Regions from separate parts of the Homo sapiens genome. Here region 1 is linked to region 2. Evidence: promoter capture Hi-C in human tissues and cell types (Jung and others, 2019). All regions are on one chromosome and are shown on one strand. The core of a region is centred on a gene start or on the middle of the fragment in contact, and the rest is flanking DNA. Distances in the headings are between cores, read along the strand shown.

Evidence for each region. The method cuts DNA at HindIII sites, captures the fragments that hold promoters and counts their contacts. A contact is called where the count stands out against the background at its distance.
Region 1: a contact is called between a fragment that was not itself captured here and the fragment with the promoter of ZNF181 in region 2, in 2 of the 25 tissues and cell types used here (mesendoderm cells and thymus).

The regions. Positions count from the first base shown.
Region 1 is chr19:34,618,627-34,626,147 of GRCh38, reverse strand. The region is part of intron 1 of SCGB2B2 (secretoglobin family 2B member 2); the gene reads left to right. It also overlaps the pseudogene ZNF807P and the pseudogene SCGB1B2P. Among named protein-coding and RNA genes, the nearest start is that of SCGB2B2, 55 kb to the left of the region's middle. The HindIII fragment of the contact is 3,723 bases long and covers 3,354-7,076 here.
Region 2 is chr19:34,732,467-34,739,632 of GRCh38, reverse strand. ZNF181 (zinc finger protein 181) reads right to left here and starts at 5,390. Exons shown (of 4, transcript NM_001029997.4): 1 at 4,587-5,390; 2 at 365-485; 3 at 12-110. The coding sequence starts at 4,595. RefSeq lists silencers at 5,148-5,207, 5,308-5,357 and enhancers at 5,638-6,027, 5,748-6,265, 6,483-6,542. The HindIII fragment of the contact is 5,149 bases long and covers 3,598-7,166 here.

The sequences.
Region 1 (7,521 bases), core at 3,966-6,465, 110 kb after region 2:
TGTGGTTTTATCTACCTTTGGTCTTTGATGATGGTGACGTACAGATGGGGTTTTGGTGTGGATGTCTTTGTTTTCCTTCTAACAGTCAGGACCCTCAGCTGCAGGTCTGTTGGAGTTTGCTGGAGGTCCACTCCAGACCCTGTTTGCCTGGGTATCAGCAGCGGAGGCTGCAGAACAGCGGATATGGGTGAAAAGCAAATGTTGCTGCCTGATCGTTCCTCTGAAAGTTTTGTCTCAGAGGAGTACCCGGCTGTGTGAGGTGTCAGACTGCCCCTACTGGTGGGTGCCTCCCATTTAGGCTACTCGGGGGTCAGGGACCCACTTGAGGAGGCAGTCTGTCCGTTCTCAGATCTCAAGCTGTGTGCTGGGAGAACCACTACTCTCTTCAAAGCTGTCAGACAGGGACATTTAAGTCTGCAGAGGTTTCTGCTGCCTTTTGTTTGGATATGCCCTGCCCCTAGAGGTGGAGTCTACATAGGCAAGCAGGCCTCCTTGAGCTGTGTTGGGCTCCACCCAGTTCGAGCTTCCTGGCTGCTTTGTTTACCTACTCAAGCCTTGGCAATGGCAGGCGCCCCTCCCCCAGCCTCATTGCTGCCTTGCAGTTTGATCTCAGACTGCTGTGCTAGCAATGAGCGAGGCTCCGTGGTTGTAGGACCCTCCGAGCCATGCATGGGATATAATCTCCTGGTGTGCAGTTTGCTAAGACCATTGGAAAAGTGCAGTATTAGGGTGGGAGTGACCCGATTTTCCATGTGCCGTCTGTCACCCCTTTCTTTGACTAGGAAAGGGAATTCCCTGACCCCTTGTGCTTCCCGGATGAGATGATGCCTCGCCCTGCTTCGTCTCACACTCGGTGCGCTGCACCCACTGTCCTGCACCCACTATCCAACACTCCACAGTGAGATGAACCCGGTACCTCAGTTGGAAATGCAGAAATCAGCCGTCTTCTGCATCACTCACGCTGGGAGCTGTAGACTGTAACTGTTCTTATTCGGCCATCTTGGCTCCACCTCACTTCTTTTATAATATTAAGGGTTTTGCTGCAAACTGCAGAAATGTTACTCAGTAGAATAAGCAGATAATACTCTGAGTAATACCTCAGATAACAAGAATGCAACACTGGTGCATTGGCCAGGAAAGGAAACATCAGAAAGATGAGTAGGAGAGGACCTCCAACACTGTACTTTCATTTCCAAGGCTCCTTATCCTCTGTTTTTTTCTTGTAAGATCAAACAAAACACTGGGCCCCTGTCAGCCTATTAAAAGCTTCTAGAGTGGCTGCCAGCCTTACAAGATTCAGGGGACAGGCTTGATGGAGAGGACTTTATCAATCCCCCATCACTCTTGGGTGTTGGGAATGTTGGCTCTGTTCCAACCTAGCTCCCTTTCACAGAAGATCTAGCCATCATGTGGGGCTGGAAGAAGGTCCTGGGGCAACTGAAGGCATCTGGCGGAGGCTGCACCTTGGTGTTACCTGAAGACTCCTGGACTAACTCCAGTCCCCAACAGCCCACCAGGACTTCCAGACTTTCCTATCACATTTTCTTCCTTTCTTTTCTTTTTTGCAGCTCTCATGTCTCCTATCCCTTCTTTGTATGCTATGTTGAGGGAGTTTTTACAGCCTGGGGAGATAACCTTGTTGGGTAAAGTTAGCAAGTGCCTTAGTAACCAGGAATGTAACTCTAAGAATTGCTGCTTCTGTGATTTCCTTGAGATGGGGGGATTTCAAGATTTCAACTAAACTTTCAACTAAACTAAACTAAACTGAACTAAACTTTCACCTAGTAAGGGCTTTTTTGTTCCCCAATGATAGTCATTCATGGCACTCTATAGGAGGATATTTCAACCTGAGTGAATACCCTCCTCTCCATTTGGGTTGTTTTATTCCTCCACATAAAAGCTCAGCACTGCCAGTGAATTTAAACAGTTCCTCCATGAGACAAATTGTATTTTTGCTGGGAGGCATATTGTGGGGACAGCCCACCAAGCCCCACACCTCTCTGCCTAGAAAGAATTTGGAGTCACAGTTTTTACCTAACATTTCAGTTATTGCCACAACACCTAGCAAAATAGGATTTTTCTGTGTTGGGGGGCCATATTGACCCTTTTCCCAAAACCTCTAGTTCCCCAACTCTTTTTCCTCCTGCATCCCTCTATAAGTGATCAGACCTCATGCCCTATTTGTAGGCAGGAAAACTCCACTTTCAATAGTCAGGAGGAAGCTGCCCTTGAGAGACAAATTCTAGGCTCAGTACTGTCCTCATCGAAGGTAGGACAGCCATTTAATCCTTATATTTTTTGAGGCACCTGTCCTAAACACAACTACATTGGCATTTAAACAAAAGAGGATTTTATGCTTAGAAGTCAATTGGTCCCATTCTCTGGGAAATCAGGGCTTTGCTAGGGCCACAGTAAGAGAAGCCAGGGACAGAGTCAAGACACTCCTTCCATTAAATGGTCTTACTCAAATCCAACTACTGCACAATCCCTCCTGGGCCCCTGGGGTACCATGGGAGCCTTTTAGGTCGAGTAGGTCTGGGATACCCAGAGATAGGTAGAGAGCTAGGGAATCTCACAGGTAAACATGACTACTCCTGCTGACTAGCTCCTCTGGATCCATGGGTGGTAATGCTTGCATCCATGGGCAGCACAATTGATGGCCACCAGGACCCAGAGGAGATGGGAGGAAAGAGGAGAAGGAGGACGCCCTTTCTACCTTTCTCTGTACCCTGGGTCACTCCAAAAGGAGGAAGTGGACTAAGGTATGCCTTTTCTCCCCTCTCTTTCCAGATACTTAACAACCCATCTTCAAGCCTGCACTTTCCTCGAGTGCAGCCTGGATCTCTTTTAATCGTCAGACCCTGAAGTTTGCTTTAGGAAAGTCCCAACTTCACTCACATATAGAGTATTTAAACTCTGCTGGAAGGATGTTAGGTTACTCTTAAATCAAACCCTAACTGCTGCTGAGAAACAGTTGGCCCTGTAGGCAGCAAAGAAATTTGGAGATGAACTTTGTGTCTCATACAGTGCCAGGGAAGGGGAAGAGCCTTATCCAATTGGGAGAGTAATAGTGCCCTTAAAGGACCCTAAATGTGACCATAATAATAGCATTGGTGAGTGGAGAAGAAAACTCTTTCAAATGCGTATATTGGAGAAGCCACAAAGGACTATAGCCAAACCTATTAACTACTACAAGCTTTCCATAATAGATAATAAAAAAAAAAAAAAACCTAGATGAAAACCCCTCAGCCTTTTTGGAAAGGCTGAGAGAAGCTTTAGTGAAACACACCTTTCTATCTCTCATTTCAATTGAAGGACAGCTAATCTTAAAGGACAAGTTTATTACTCAGGCAGCCCCTAATATCTGAAGGAAGTTGCAAAAACAGGCCGTGTCCAAAGATCTCTCTGATTTTTCTCACCCTCAGGTTGAAGCTTTGCAGTATGTAGATGACATTCTCCTCTGTGCCCCAACTGAGAAAGTCTCAGGAAGACACTGAGGCTCTCCTCAATTTTTTAGCTGAAAGGGGATATAGGGTTTCAAAATTTAAGGCTCAGCTCTTTCAAACTTCAGTAAAGTACCTATATCTAGTCCTGTCAGAAGGAACAAGAGCACTAGGTAAGGAAATGATTAAGCCCATTTCCTCTTTGCCCTTCCCAAAATGCTTAAACATCTGAAGGGATTCTTAGGCATTATTGAATTTTGCAAACTAGGAATACCCAGGTACAGTGAGATAACTCGCCCTTTATACCACCTCATAAAAGAAATGCAAGCAGCTAAAACTCAGTCCCTGACTTGGGAACCTGGGGCTCAAAAAGGCTTTAACCAGTTAAAACAAGCCTTGCTTAAAGCACCAGCCCTTAGTCTTCCCATAGGAAAGACATTCAGTCTCTATGTAGCAAAAAGGAAGAGAATGGCCCTGGGAGTTTTAACTCAGGCTCAAGGTCCAGCTCAACAGCCAGTAGGTTACCTAAGCAAGGAGCTTGAGTTGATGGCTAAAGTACGGCCAGCTTGCCTCTGAGCAGTTACAGCAGTGGCTTTACTGGTGTCAGTGGCCACCAAGTTAACCATGAGGAATGACTTAACTGTATATAACCCACATAATGCGGCAGAACTGCTGTCTTCTAAGAGAAGTCCCTGGCCAACAGATAATCACCTCCTCAAAGATCAGGCTCTGCTGTTAGAGGAATCTACAGTCCAGTTAAAAAAACCTGTCCTTGCCTGAACCCAGACACTTTCCTCCCAGAGGAAACTGAAGAACCTGAATATGGCTTTGAACAGTCATGCAAACCTATGCAGCCAAGGAGGACCTCAAAGAAACTCCCCTAGAAAACCCAGAAGCCAGACATGCTGGTAAAAGGATAAAAGTTTTTTTACAGTCAGACTTTTGGCCTCTCTGTCCCTGTGCAAACCAGTGAAAGGAATGATAAGAATCATTGTTTATATTCCCTGTAAAGTTTTAATTAATGAAAAAGGATATTCTTAAAGAATGCTCAGCTTAATTAAAAGAGGATATCCAAGTTATAGATATATTTAAAAGATTTTTATGTTTTTCTCTCCTTGGATCTTGTTTTTCTGAAAAGGTTTTTTTTTTTCTCAGTTGACTAAATTACTTTTCTCCACTTTGTCTTGCCAGTCAGTGCATGTATGAAAGGCCCTAGATAGCTTCTGATGGCCTGGGACTCCTTGGGGAAAAAAAAAAAATGCCAAGGATTCCATTTTGTGAGACATCTCTCTTTTCCTCATGAAACCCCAAGAATTAGAGGTGAATATAACCCACTCAAAATCTCTTTTTGCCTTTCAGGTATGCCTGTTTATTAGGCCCTAGAAACTGTATGCTTTCCTAGCCCTGTTCTTAAAGAGCTCCACCCTGAGGCCAATAATCCAATTAGAAAATTGACGAACAAAAAAACCTTACAACTGCTGGGTTTTCTTCTGTCTGTGTAGTCATATATATGTTATGTGTGTAATGGTTATACAAAAAAAGTTATAATTAACTGGCTTTAAAAATAAGCACTTAGATAAAATATTTTTTGAAGGAAAAATAAAAGCTGTAATGCCTTTTACTTCATGCGACTTTAATCTTTCAGGAATAGGAACACTATTTAAGGATTATAAATAAGGAATAGGAACATTCTCTTTTTTTTGCATATAGCTTGAATTTATTTTGAAAGTTTTCCCAGTATACATTCTCATAAACATAATTACTGATTTCAAGTATTGGAACATTCTCTTTTTTTGCATATAGATTGAATTTATTTTGAAAGTTTTCCCAGTATACATTCTCATAATTACTGATTTCAAGTATTTTTGTAACTTTTGACATTATTGCCAAATGGTGTGATGTTAATACTATAAGATTTGCCCCATCTCCATCGCTGCTGGAACATCTCATGGCCCCAATTTCACTGCCAACTCATTGGAACTATGAATTATAATTTAAATGCTTTTTCCTAGGCAGAAAATTCATCTGACTTTTTAAAATATATACTTTAAGTTCTAGGGTACATGTGCACAACGTGCAGGTTTGTTACATATGTATACATGTTCCATGTTGGTGTGCTGCACCCATTAACTTGTCATTTACATTAGGTATATCTCCTAATGCAATCCCTCCCCCCTCCCCCCACCCTGGTGTGTGATGTACCCCACCCTATGTCCAAGTGTTCTCATTGTTCAATTCCCACCTATGAGTGAGAACATGCAGTGTTTGGTTTTCTGTCCTTGCAATAGTTTGCTCAGAATGATGGTTTCCAGCTTCATCCATGTCCCTACAAAGGACATGAACTCATCCTTTTTTATGGCTGCATAATATTCCATGGTGTATATGTGCCACATTTTCTTAATCTAGTCTATCATTGATGGACATTTGGGTTGGTTCCAAGTCTTTGCTATTGTGAATAGTGCCACAATAAACATATGTGTACATGTGTCTTTATAGTAAAGTGATTTATAATTCTTTGGGTATATACCTGGGTCATTTCCAATTAAGAAAAGATTATTATATTGAGAACACGTTCCAAAATTGTAGAATGGTGCTCATCTATAAAATGCTAGTATCTGATAGGCAATTTAGGATTTCTTGCTTCCTGGGTTTACATAAAATGTGCCAAGGAAAATGTGTTCTATTTTTTTTTAAAAAAGAATAATTTTATCTAATTCAAAAGTTATCTAAAAGTTAATTCCAGTTGTGCACTTGAAAAGGTTATTCATCCAAGTAACTTTCTGTATTGCCTTTAAAGCCCTGTGCAGTTGAGTTACAAAGCTTTGATTCTTGGGTCTAAAAAAGGGACATTATTATGTTAATTCTCACCTTAATTCTCTTGAATAGTTAAAATCCTTTGCAACTTCAAAAATAACTGCTCAAGATTCCTTTCAGGAAAAGCAATTTCAGTCACCTTGTGCTCAGTAGTTAAGGTTTTTGTCTTTTCATGCTGGTGGCCTGGGTTCAATTCCTGGCTTAGGGAATCAGTCTTTTCTGATTTTATGTGTGTTTGACTTTTTGCCATTTATTGCTTCCTTTCCTCTTTGTGGACAGCTTCTGATTTCGTGTCTTGAAATTTTCTTTTTCCTGAACTACCTTTGGGGAGATTCTACATCTCATAAAAATTGCTTGCCGTCTCTTTGCCCATCGCTTGCCATCTCTTTGGAGACACTTCATGCATCCAAGGTTACCATCCTCTTAGTTAAGACTTACTGATTTCATGTAGAAGGTTGCCTTTAGTAAAAAAAATTCAAAAGCCAGAAATATTGGCCCTTTGTCTTGGCTAAAAGCTGGTAATAAAAGATTTTTAAAGAATCTTAAGATCTCTATACTTAAAAGTTGACTTAATTAAAGCTGATATTTGGCCTATATATGCGTGAATATTGTTTTAAAGCCCCCACTCTCCCTCTAAAGATTTCTTTATTGATGAAATTCTGTCTTGGATCTCCGTTTTTGTCTGTGTATTATGTGTGTTACGTGTGTGGTGTAAAAGAGCTGTAATTAATTGTCCTAAATATAAGCACTTAAACATATTGTCAGAAAAAAATAGAAACTTTAATGGATTTAGGTCATGGGACTCTAATTTCTTTAAAAAAGACAATGTAAAAGATTATTGGTAAAATAAAATAAATATATTCAAAATTTAGACATTTGGTCTAAAGTAGGCAGGCTGAACCTGTTTGCCATGTGTTTTAAGGCCATAAACTGCTTCTATGACTTTAAATAATTGTTTGACTTGTCTGTTTTATAGCCATTAGATTTTAGGTAAGGCTTAGGCCAGGTCCCCTGGCTAAGTTTGGGAGAGTTGGACACTATCTGCAGCTCTATCCTCATCCTGAGATCTGCAATCTGATACATGGTTAAAATTGCTTGTTTACCATCTTTTCCACCAAAAATAAGAGTTGCTAAAAGTTAATATTATAACATGTGCTTGAAACTACTGAAGAAAGAGTTTCACATGCAGGGTGTGTAAGGAAGGTAAAGTGTGATTTTGGTAAAAGGTGATAAAAGGTATGGGAGTATGACTTTTGTTAAAAAG
Region 2 (7,166 bases), core at 4,141-6,640:
CCATGACTCACCTGGAATCATACCTTTTGACAGTTTTTTCTCCATCATCCAGGGCTCTTTTCCATCCTCCAATAACGTGATCACATATGGCTTAGTTACAGAAAGACCTGCTTACAGGAAGAATACAGAATTGTTTAAGCCGTGGTCCTCTATTATGAGAGGCCATCACAAGAGGGACCACAGGAAGGGATGAAGGGTATTCATCGAAATGGAAAGATAAGCTTCAGGCAGGGCACAACAGAGCTGCACATTTCCTTGGGAACATGCTACAGAAATTCAGCCATTTACTTAGGAGGGTCTCCAGCAATTCAGGGTGGCAAAAGAAAGGTGTCCCCTACTGGAGTGGAAGGGGTAATATCCTTACCTACAGAGACCAGGTTCTCATAATTCTGGACCATCACATCCTTGTATAAGTCCCTCTGAGCAGAACTGAGCCATCCCCACTCTTCATGAGTGAAGTCTATAGCCACATCATTAAATGTCACCTGAAATAGCAAACATATTTAGGCTCAGCCATAGCCCAGGCCTCTTCTGTCACTGAAGAAAGGGTAAAATTAGCCTGGTTGTGGGAGAAATGGAACAAGATTCAGGAGTTGTGGCAATGATTGGGAATGTGATCTCAGTTAAGTAATAATAGGACAGTTATGTAGTTGGAATTACTATACAATAAGGGGGACAGTTATGTGCTTAGAATTATTATACAATAAAGGTGAGAAACAAATATGAGAGCTTTGCTTCAGTAGAGTTAATTTTGCTAAAAGTTACAGAAATACATGAATTTTTAAAAATCAGCATTTGACATTTGACAGCACAGAGTCAAGTATTTAGTTATATCTTTTACAGCTTAACTGCTAGGTAAGTAATTAAAAAATGAGGGTAAAGTGATTGTCTCTCAAATGGGATACTCAGGATGATCCACTAAGGCTCACAAAAAATGGGCAGCTGGGTGTGGTGGCTCACACCTGTAATCCCAACTACTTGGGAGGCTGAGGCAGGAGAATGGCTTGAACCCAAGAGGCGGAGGTTGCGCCACTGCACTCCAGCCTGGGTAATAGAACAAGACTCTGTCTCAAAAAAAAAAACAAAAACAAAAAAAAAACCTTTATATTAAAGACTAATAGACATACACTGTTATGGTTTGATTGTGACCCCCAAAACGCGTGTATTGAACTTAATCGCCGCTGTAACAGTTTTGAGAGGTGAGACCTTAGGAGATGATTAGGCCTTGAGGGCTCTGCCCTCATGAATGGATTAATGTCATCATCATTAGGAGTGACTTCCTTATTTAAAAAATGAGTTTGGGCCCCTTTTTGGTTCTCTCTCTTCTCTTCGCCCTTCCACCATAAAAGGACACAGCAAGAAGGCCCTTGCTGGATGCCTGCCCCTTGATCTTGGACTTCCCAGGCTCCAAAACCATGAGAAGTCAATTTCTATTACTCAGTCTGTGGTATTCTGTTATAGCAGCACCAATGGACTAAAATATACACATAACTGATTCATAAACAAAAAAGAAAAATATATTTATGGTGTATACTTAAACTTTGTACTGATAGACAATTATTAAAATATGAGACCCCTGGGTGAAAAGACTGAAGGATGGTTTCATGCCATAGATCAGGGGTCCCTAATCCCCTGATGGTTAGGGGTACATAACCACTGGTACCAGTCTGTGGCCTGTTAGAAATCAGGCCACAGAGCAGGAGATGAGTGGCAGGCAAATGACTTTTATCACCTGAGCCCTGCCTCCTGTCAGATCAGCTATGGCATTAGACTCTCATAGGAGCGCAATCCCTACTGTGAAGTGCGCATGCAAGGGATTAAGGTTGCACGCCCCTTATGTGAATTGAACTAATGCCTGATGATCTGAGGTGAAACAGTTTCACCCCCAAACCACCACCTCCTGCTTCTGTGGAAAAACTGTCTTCCACAAAACCGATCCCTGGTGCCAAAAAGGTTGGGCACCACTGCCTTAGATAGTCCTTAAATAAGACCTGAAAGTAAAGGGAAAAAAATAAAGGGGTACGTTTCAAAGAAAATAAGGAAATGTTCACAGATGTGGCTTAGAAATTCCTTTCAATAGTACTCATTTCACAATATTACTTTTTAGTAAAACTTTGGAAGCTTAAATATTCAATAATAGTTTATTGGCTAGTCAAATTATAATATGTACAAAAAATACATCTATTTAATACAGCATTATTACTGTCTTTGATTTGTGAAACAGACTGCTTGCCTGTGGTAATTTTTTAGCTCTGAGAGTTAATTCAGCATTGTATTACATTATTTGGATATTTTGCATGCATGTTCACCAGTGATACTCGTCTTTGGTTTTAAAGGCAGAATTTATTTTTGCCAGGTGTTGGGAAAATAATTAAAATTCAAATCTCCTGCCAATGGCAGAAAATCCTCTCCACAAATGTAGAAAAAAAGAACACAGTTTTATTACTTAATAATCACTAAATCAACTGTGATGCACTTCACAGGCAATCCACTAATGAGATTAAAAGGACAGGAAGAAATCTCTTTTTTATAGCCAAGCAGATACAATCCAATACATACATTTTCCAAATAATCAAGTAAGACCTTACAGTTCAATTTGCTACACATAATTTATCCTAAATTCACCTGTTAATTGGAGTTGCCACTGTGTTAGTTAATTCCCTTTATCCCAAATCAAAAAAACATTTCTCATAGCTTTATGATGAACAGGTTATTACAAGTTAGAGCCAGGGATGCTTCCTTCTTCCCCTTCAGTTGTCTGGGCAGCCTGGGGTGTTCACTCATCTCTGTCCCCAAAAGAACATAGCCTATCTGTCCTGGCATTTATTTTAATTTCTTATGCTTTCTTACTTTTCTACCAGTGCTGCAATCCTCAATACAGTAGCCACTAGGCAATTTGGCTACATACATTTAAATTAATTAAAATGTAAAAATAAAATAAGTAAAGTTTAAAATTCAGTTTCTCAGTTGCTTAAGCCACAGTTCAAGTACTCAATAGTCATACAGGGCTGGTGGCTACTGTACTGACCAGTACACATGCAGAGCACTTCCACCACTGCAGAAAGTTCTCTTAGACAATACTGCACTAGATCATGAAGTCCTGTGTGTCAGTGTACACCAAAATCCATGTACAACTTTTCCTAACAGATACTTCCTAAGTGTTTAGAAGATGAACCAATGAATGATTTTGGCATTAGTTCACTTTAGCTGTTACTTTTTTCTTGCTCTGCCGCCAGGCTGGAGTGCAGTGACATAATCATAGCTCACTGCAGCCGCACACCACAGGGTTCAAGAAATTTTCTCAACTCATCACCCTCCCGAATAGCTGGAAAAACAGGCATGTACCACCACACCAGTTTTTCAATTCTAATTATCTAACTTCTCCAAGAAAACAGACTTCACCCAACATGTACATCTGCTACTCACATCCCCTCCTATGCAAGCTTCACCTTCCATGCCATGATTCTGCCCCACCAGTTCGTCATTACTCATCTTATTCACTCCACAATTACTTACTAAGCATCTATTTGGTGCCAGGTAACCCTCTGGGTACTGAAGCTATAACAGACAACAAAAAAGAAAAAAGATTCCTCCCACCAGGAACAGACAATGAGCATGTGCATATACTGAACATACAGTACATCAGCTAGTGAGTGACACACACTGTGGAAAACAACAAAGCAGTGATGGAGGAGTGGAAGTGCTAGGCGAGGGAAGGTGACTGCGATTGCAAATAGCCATTCAGGGAAGCTTTTCTGAGAAAGTAACCACGGAACAAACACACGAAGAAGATAAGGATGCAAGTTTGTGCGTATGTGGGGGAAGAATATTCCACGTCGATGGCACAGCAACTAGTGACAGTGGCTAGAGCTCACAGGAATGAGGAGGCAGAGAAGGAAGGTGGGATCAGAAAGGTAATGGCCTAATTGTACAAATAGGTCATTGCAGAAGTGACTCAGTTAGAGCCACTGAAAAATTATAGGTTGAGGAATGACAGGAATTTATGTAACAATAGGACCACGGTCACAGCTGTACTGAGAACAGACTGATGAGGGTTAAGGGCAGATGCAGGGAATCCAGCTAGGAGGCTACCGCAATAATCCAGGTGGCTTTATTGCTATCACTACCGGGGTGGTAGTGGTGGTGGTAGTGCTGGGGTAACTAATGGTCAGATTCTGTATACAGTGTATAGCTTAGCTCCAACTAGAGGATCTGAATATAGGTATAAGTCAAAGGGAAGAATCAAGGATGACTGCAAGCATCTCTTCACTTGAGACCACATGGTACAGTTTTGACAACCATAAACCGAATAACCTTACATTCCAAAGTTGCATTGTGAATTACAGTTTTAAAATGTTGGCAAGACTAGAAAGTCTTCTAGCAGAAAACTGTAGAAAAGAGGAACACTGGGTGAGGAGGATAATACCTTGGAGCTCTCCTGTGGGCTCCGTCCTTCCTATACTGAAAGGAACCATGGATCCAGTCCCTTAAATGGACTTGGTTAGGTGGGAACAGGCAGGAGAAGCAAAGCAAACACACAGTCCTGATAAAGTGTTTCAGGAAGATTTGCGGACACACCGACCTACCTGAGGCATTACTCTGCAATTTCCAACAGCCAACAGAGTCCTCTTTCCAGGCTCTTATCTTAGAGATGGGCAGTGTCCTGAGGGCACAGAAGGGCAGGAAAAAGCAGTCATGAAAAATCAGGCTTATCTTGCGGCACCTGTGACACACCATAATGGAAAGGCACACTGGTAATCACTCTCCAGGGCGCCAATCTCTCCCTGGGAACTAACAGGGTGTTTCTCCGCAAGGGCTAACCATTTACCAGGTGCCACCTGCGAGGAAAATCAATTACTCTGTAAATAAAATCCTCATAAAACAATGGTAAAAACTTTATCAGCTCGTTCAGTCTTCACCACTATGCACGGTGTGCGTTCACATTTTTCCAGATCTATTTTTTAAACGATGACAAAACTGAAATTCCAAGATACTGAACCCATTTGTTCAAGGTTACACAACTGTAGAGCGCCGGCTTCATGACGACATAACCCAAAGACAACTGTGGCTGGCGTCTAACCACGCGCCCACTTCACTCTCACAACAGCGCCAAGAGGTCGGCGCCGTCATCACCCCGCGTTTACATAGGAGGACATGAAGGCCAGGAAAACCAAGGCACCGGCCGGGGTCACACCGCGGGGCAGACCCAGGGCCTGAGCCCCGCCGCCGCCCCCGGGACTCATACTGGCCGGAGTCCTCAGCAGGGCCTCACCGTCCCCGCAGGCGCCCCGCGTCGCTGGTGAGCGGGCAACGGCCGCCGACCTCTGGGGACGACACTGCCCAGAATCGTCCCGGAGCCTGGGAGTCGCCGTCAGGCCTGAGGCTACAGCGGGGCGGACCCAGTGCGCCGCCCACAGCCGATCGACATTTCCCAGAATCATCCGCGCAGGGGACAAAATTCCAGGCGCAACGAACCGCAGGTACCGGAAGACCACACTTCCCAGGAGTCTCTGCGGCCGCGCGGACCTGGGGCGCCGCGGGCAAACAGATCTCGGTTTCCTAAAAAACTAAACCGCCTGGGGCTGTCGTCCCAGAGCCCGGCAGTTAGGACCATGCGGGAAGTGTCCTGGGGCATATAGTCATACTGATGAGGTGAAAGATACACCTCGGAACCAAGGGCCACCCTCTACTTTTAAGGACAATGGCGCCGGGACCAAGAAACTACACTTCCCAGAAAACCGTGCGGCCGTGGCAAACTCTTCTGGGTCTAGCGTGCGCTCACACTAATGTTTATCTCCCGGGACGTGGGCAGACCTTGTACCAGGCGAGCTCTCGCCTTTGCTAGCAAAAGAGCTCCTCTCTTCCCAAACCCTGCTACTACGCTGTCCACCCTGTATGGTCTTTGAGGTCTTTGAGGTTTTTTTGGAATTCACTTGCTGGAGACTACAGCTCACAGAACGCCCTGGGCTGGATTGTGCCAGCTGTAGTTCGCGAACCAAGGACATTTCCTGGAAATGCATGCGGCCACGTATCTGTGACAGAAATGGCAGTTCTCACGTGCGTTACGCCCCCTGGAAGGACTTGGAAATACGGAACTTGAGTGAGCACTGAGAGGACACAGACCCTCATCCTGGGAGGAGTCACTCCTCCCGCAGCCATCAGAGCCTGACAACCGCTTCTCACCAGAGGCGCTTCTTAGACCCTGACCTTGCCCGGCTCACCCAAAGGGGCAATGGCCTTCTTTGTATGCAAGCCAGACAGTCTACTGTTGTATATTTGAATTTTTTACTTTATTTTTAATATTTTAATTAAATTTTAATTTAATGCTGCCTCTACCTCTGAGAGAGACAGGGAGAGATGGGGGAGGCCTGGAGTGGGGGCCCTGCGGGGCAGGGACAGGGGACCCTTCCTCACTTTGCACAATCTGGGAACCCTCCCCAAGCGGAACAGCCAGCTGCAGTGGAAAAGCACTGGCTTAGTGGGCTTCGTCCTGGGGACGAAGGCTGGGAGACTGCAGCTGAAAGGTGTGGGCTCCAGGAGGGCCGCAGGGGGCCTAGCAGCAGCGTCAGGGAGCAGAAGTCCGCCCTCCCTCCATCTTCCTTCCTTCTCTGGCCGCCAGAGCGCTCTGTCTCCCTCCCACGCCCACAGCTACAGGTGGAGCCGGCTTGGGGCGGGGGGGGGGTCCTCCTAGGGCGAAGAGGGCCAGGAGCCTTCCTGAGGACCTGAGGCTCCTCTGGGCCTCCCAGGGCTGGGCCTGTGATCTGATCTGCTTTGCCCTGGGAGGGACGTGCTCAGTGGTGGGGTTTGTGTAGCTGTCACTCATTCACCTGCCTGTGCTCAGCCACTCACCTGCTACTCCCATTGGCACCCACCCAGTACACATGTGGGTCGTCAGCTGCCATCAGGAGTAGTTCCTGCCTGTGTCACACACACCCATCCCACCCACCACACTGCAGGTTACAGGATTGCCCCACAAGCGCCACCATGCCTGCCTGAGGTTACCTGGCACACAAGTATCCTCACCTGCATGACATGACCAGATCGTGCACTTTCTATGCCAGGACCAGGGCCAGGGCAAGCTTGCACCTTCAGCCTTGGGGACACTGGGGGTGGTGGTGGCTGGAGGCCAGGGAAGTCACCAGGCTGGAGACATCATCTACCTCCAG